Regions from separate parts of the Homo sapiens genome. Here region 2 is linked to region 1. Evidence: promoter capture Hi-C in 16 types of primary human blood cells and fetal thymus (Javierre and others, 2016). All regions are on one chromosome and are shown on one strand. The core of a region is centred on a gene start or on the middle of the fragment in contact, and the rest is flanking DNA. Distances in the headings are between cores, read along the strand shown.

Region 1 (2,700 bases), core at 112-2,611:
TTCATTGAAGATTGTTATAAGCGGATAGTTAAGCATGCATTATAGTCAATAAAACTATAAAGTTTAACGATTTCTAGTGATAGAGTGTGCTATGGTCTAAATGTTGGTGCTCCCCCAGATTCATACTTGGAAGTTAATACTAATGTGATAGTTTTAACAGGTGGGGTCTCTAGAGGTGATTAGGTCAGGAGGGATCCACCCTCCTGAATGGGATTGGTGCACTTATAAAAGAGGGCTGAGGGAATGCCCTTGGCCCTTCTGCCACGTGAGGACATAGGTTCTCCCTTCTACCACGTGAGGATGCAGCAAGATGGCTCTGTCTATAAGGAAGGGCTCTCACCATGGTGACACAGAAGCTGCTGGCACTTTGATCTTAGACTTCCTAGCTTCCAGAACTGTGAGAAATAATTCTATTGTTCATAAATTACCCAGTTTGTGGTATTTTGTTATAGCAGCCTGAATGGACTAAGACAAAAGCTAGTCTAAAATAAACATACAGAATAACTTTTTCTAGGCACCTCACTTGTGGAGGGACTAAAGAATGAAGGTGACCAAAGAGAAGGCAGAGGGATCAGAAAGACAGCAAAGGGCCACAATAGCAGAAGCCCTCCTCCACTTAGCCCCGACCTGTCTGTGAGCTTCATGGCCCACCCCTCTCCCATTTACCTGGCCCTCTCCACTGTACACCCATCTGCACGCTGTGCATGCCCCTTCTCAGCTTCCCAGGAAGAGCCTTTCTTGATAGCACGCCCCCTCCCTTCCAAGGCCGTGCCCCACAGCAGTCTGCGCCTCTCTCTACTGTTGCTCCTACTCTGCTCCAGCAGAAATACCCGCCTTCCGTTTCAGCCCGAGTTCTTTGAGAACAAAGGCTGTGTCTATTTCATTTCTGCACGCAGAGCCTGGCTCACCGCGAGCGTGCACAGGGGTACGCATGGATGCAACCAAGCGGTGGCTTGCTAGGGAACCCTCCTTAGAGGCTGTGCGAGGAATGCCCCACCCCAAAGGAGAGATGGTCACCCCGTTTCTCACTCATGGTCCGGATGGGAGAAGGGTTTCTGGCTGCGCTCGCTGCCGTGATGAACCGTGCGTAATTCATGTCTTCTGACAGCCAAGCATCAAGCTTCTTCTTCAGTGGTTGAGGACTAGAAAAACCAAAGAGCCTCGTCAAGTCCTGCCTGCTAACTCCTCACTCTGGCAACGCCACCGCGAGATGTGTCCCCCCGCTGCGTCTGGCTTCCCGCGCGCGGTGCCCGGAGAACGCCGCCGAAACTCCCCGGCTGGACGCTGCGTTCGGTCTCCCGGTCCTAAACGGGTCTGGGGCTGTGTGGCGAGCCCGGCAAAGTCCACGCCGCACGCGCTCCTGCGGCCGCCAGGGCCCAGGCCGGTTTTGCCCCGCCGCGGGCCTCGCCGCGCCCCCTCCCGCCCCGCGCCGTGGCCTATGGCCGCCCGCGGCGCGCGCCTCCCCGTCCCGGATCATCGCCCTCAGAGCGCAGGGCGCGGGGTAGCCCAGGCGCGAGGCGCTTGCAGCCCCAGGCCAATGACTCTTGACCTCGCCGCTGGGAATCACCGCAACCCGGCGTCCGCGTTGGCCGGCCTAGGCGCCGGCCCAGAGGCTAGCCCAGGGGCTGACCGAGGGGACCGGAAGTGCCCGTGATCCTAATCCTCGGGAACCATCTGGCGGCGACTTGGGTCCACTGCAGGGGGCTCCCGAGCTGCGCCCAGCCGGGAGCGGCCCCACCCTCGTTCCCGCGCGCTCCGCTGGCCTCCTCTCAGTCACTGGGACTGTGCATTTTGCCCGCTCAGACCATGGCTATGCTAAATACCCATCTTTCGTTAGTGAAACTCTGGGCACTCTCCTGGGAAGCATCCCGGCGACCAAGACGAATTTCAACATCACTTTCTCGAAGATCTCAGCATTTTGGAGTGACGATGGAGTTCTGACAAAAATTTTTGAAAAATCACTCTGAGTCTCTTCAATTTTAGTGTCTACCCTCACATTGAATTTCTGACCTTTCGTTAAATAAGAATTATGTTGGAAGTGAATATCCGGATCTTTTTGGGTCTAGCACCTTGCCTTTTTTTTTCTTACAAAATAACCCTTCTTACTCCCCACCTCCCTCAACTTTTCTGCAATTTCTCCTTCCTGAATCACCAAAATGGAATGTACAAGGTTTAATGTGAGCACTTAATGAGGGAAGGGTTTCAGACAACCTCTCTTTGACTTTAAAAAATTCTTTAATGGTTATTAAAATGAATGAACAGATTCATTCATTCAGCACAAATTTACTGAGTACTTCCTAGATGATTATTGACTCACTGCCAAATGGCTCTCTTTTAAGTTTACCTAATAGGTTGGTCAAGGAGCCACTGCTTTTATCTAGGTCCTGGCAGCAAAAGGCTGAGATAACCCAGTAAAATCTTTGTGCTAGCAGCTAAATAACAAAAAGGAAGTATTGAGAGGTGACAGCCTGCTGGCAGCCCTCGCAGCCCTCGCTCACTCTTGGCGCCTCCTCGGCCTCAGCGCTCACTCTGACCGCGCTTGAGGGGCCCTTCAGCCCGCCGCTGCACTGTGGGAGCCCCTTCCTGGGATAGCGGAGGCCGGAGCCGGCTCCCTCAGCCTGCGGGGAGGTGTGTAGGGAGAGGCACGGGCGGGAACCAGGGCTGTGCGGGCGCTTGCGAGCCAGCTAGAGTTCCGGGTGG
Region 2 (2,700 bases), core at 111-2,610, 330 kb before region 1:
GCTTTGTTTTCTCATCTGCAAAAAGGGCATACAGTGCCTATATCGGGGTTGTTACAAGGAATGTTATTATATGTAAAAATACACAGAACGGTCCTAGCACATAATATACAAATGCTGGCCATTACGGTTATAGTCTCTACAGACTCATCTTCATTTCTGTTATTGTATTTCTAGTTAAGCACATCACTCCACCAAAGCAGTTCTTCACTGCACCTTCAAAAAGAGAATTTTTTCAGCTGTGCCTTTACTCACACACTAGTTCAGCATCTCCATAGCCCTAACAACTAGGATTTAGAACAGCTGTCCCCTTCAGAGGCTACACTTCTTCTTTACCCTGGTCTTCCTAGAATGCATGACCCAATATGAAGGATGCCTATACCGATGGCCCTTTAACAGTTAGTTAAGCCCTCTAAGAATGTCTCACCCTGTCCGATTTATGACACTACCAGAGTAACTTTTCTAAAACTTTAGTTATCACAATGGCACTTCTTTCCTGATTCCCCTTATTGCTACTGTAGTGGTTACAGAACTTCCGAAATCGTAGTAAAGTATGAGAATGCACACACTCTCTCCTCCTCCCCTCTCAGTAGTGCTTTTATGATCAGGTCCCTCTTATTTTCCCATTTCCCTGGCTCCAGCCAAGCCGAACGCTCCGCTACGCCCAAACATCTCCTACAGTTTTATGTCTCAGAATCTTACTTCTCTGCCTTCAAAACCAATTTTCAAAGAGTTGTCTTAAAAGTCTTCTTTAACACCCCCTGGGACTTGTTAAATCCTCCTTCAGTGTTTCCATAGCACTTTCTACACACCAGCGTTATAATCCCAAACAAAAAAGTCACAGTAGAATGCATATTTGCTTGTGCCCCTCCTCCCCAGGCCGAGGGCTCAACAAGCAGCAGGAGCAAGCAGGTTGACCCCCAAATCCGCAGCGCCCCACAGAATGTCAGGTATGTAATCGGTTCCCAATCAATCTGGCTGGGCGAATGAACCATTGGTTGGCTTAATCCGTTTCCCCAGGAAATGCTCCAAGAGGAGCTGGGCAGAAGATGCAGAGGAGCTACTTTCCTGGTCCAACCCCCTGCAGAGCGCGAAACAGCGGCCCTGGGCAGGATCCCCGCAGCAAACCGCAGCCCCTGGACACACAGCAAGCTTAATAGTCACTGGATGAATGAAAAGCGCTGCCTCCTGGTGCCCTGGCTGTCACCCAAAGCGCCCCGCGTAGCCCGCACAGCCTTTCCGGCAGTACCTGCGGCCCCTCTCCGCCGGGCCTGCGCTTCCCGCCACCGCCGACCATTCTGCAGCTGCAGCGCCAGCAGAATTCCCCGATCCGCGGCCGCTTCCGAGCGCCGCCAACCGCTTCCGGGTTCAAAAGCCTCCAAGCCGAATTTCAGCGCCGCCCGGGCTCGCCAATTTAGGGGAAAGGCTCCGCCCATTCCCCGCCCCCTGAGACCTGGCACCGGACGCGTTGAGGCCCCGCCCACTCCCGTGCTGGGCGCGTGCAAGGAGCGTCTTCTGTCAGCGTAGTCTGCATCTAGGCTTTCTGGAGCATCTTCCAGGGTCGCTCCAGAGACCCCCCAGACTACTGAATCTGAATCCTTAGAGTGGTCCAACCTTCCTCTTCAGGTGTCTACTAGAGGCAAGGTTGGATGTATGCGGCTGTTCTCAATACAGCCCCTTCCTTGTTTTTTCTTCATTTATATTTACTTAAAATATTAATCCTTTTCTCCTTCTCCTCCATCCCTCTCCCTACCCTACTGTACGGTTATTGGCTTACACTAATTCATTCCCGATTGTCTCCAAGAAGGAAATAAATGTCTGTCGGTCTCTGTCTCTGTACCGTCGTCTTCTTGGTACAATTTGGACTGTTTTTCCTCTACACCGCTGATATGCAAAGTGTAGTCCCTGAACCAGCGGCCTCAGCATCCTGAGGGAATTTGTTAAAACGCCAAATCTCAGGCCTTACCCAGACTTACTGAATCAATATCTGCATCGCAACAAGATCCCCTGGTAATTCCTATGCACATAAAATTTGGAAGGCACAACTCTCAACTGATGTCCTTGGACCTCCTTCACATCCATCCTGGGAAGGTCTTATTCCTCATTCCTGAGATGAGTTCTCTATTTCCTCAATCTGGGTGTTCCTTTTTCTTGATTATATACCCTCATGTTGTGGAACATATCCGCCAATAGTTCCTTGAGAGAGGTTGCTGCCAGGTCTTTTTTCCCACAGAGTGTGCATGTCTGGAAATGTTTTTATTCTGGCTGAGCACAGTTCTAGGTTGAAAATAACTTTCACTCGGAATATTGGAGGGCTTGCTCCGCAATATTTTAGCTTCCAGAATTGTTAAGAAACTATGTCGTTATATTTCCTTCTCCTTCACAGGTCACTAAATTTCTTGATATGTAACCTGCTTTCCTTTCTGTTTTGTTTTGTCTCAAGAAGCTTTAGGATCTTTTCTCTGTTTCCAGTGTTTTTTGTTTTGTTTTGTTTTGTTTTGTTTTTTTTGAGACGGAGTCTCGCTCTGTTGCCCAGGCTGGAGTGCAGTGGTGCCACCTCAGCTCACTGCAAGCTCCACCTCCCGGGTTCACACCGTTCTCCTACCTCAGCCTCCGGAGTAGCTGGGACTACAGGCGCCCGCCACCACGCCCAGCTAATTTTTTTTTTTTTTGTATTTTTAGTAGAGACGGGGTTTCACCGTG

Evidence for each region. The method cuts DNA at HindIII sites, captures the fragments that hold promoters and counts their contacts. A CHiCAGO score of 5 or more calls a contact.
Region 2: the fragment with the promoter of HPF1 here is called in contact with the fragment with the promoter of AADAT in region 1 in 13 of 17 cell types (erythroblasts, fetal thymus, megakaryocytes and 10 more); the score reaches 37.9 in erythroblasts.

Annotation. Positions count from the first base shown.
Region 1 is chr4:170,088,595-170,091,294 of GRCh38, forward strand. It overlaps AADAT (aminoadipate aminotransferase), which reads right to left and starts at 1,362. Exons shown (of 13, transcript NM_016228.4): 1 at 1,030-1,362. The coding sequence starts at 1,096. RefSeq lists a silencer at 584-878. The HindIII fragment of the contact is 4,709 bases long and covers 1,119-2,700 here.
Region 2 is chr4:169,756,584-169,759,283 of GRCh38, forward strand. HPF1 (histone PARylation factor 1) reads right to left here and starts at 1,361. Exons shown (of 8, transcript NM_017867.3): 1 at 1,247-1,361. The coding sequence starts at 1,294. It overlaps LOC107986240 (a long non-coding RNA gene), which reads left to right and starts at 1,480. Exons shown (of 3, transcript XR_001741529.2): 1 at 1,480-1,641. RefSeq lists an enhancer at 1,209-1,278. The HindIII fragment of the contact is 1,294 bases long and covers 1,148-2,441 here.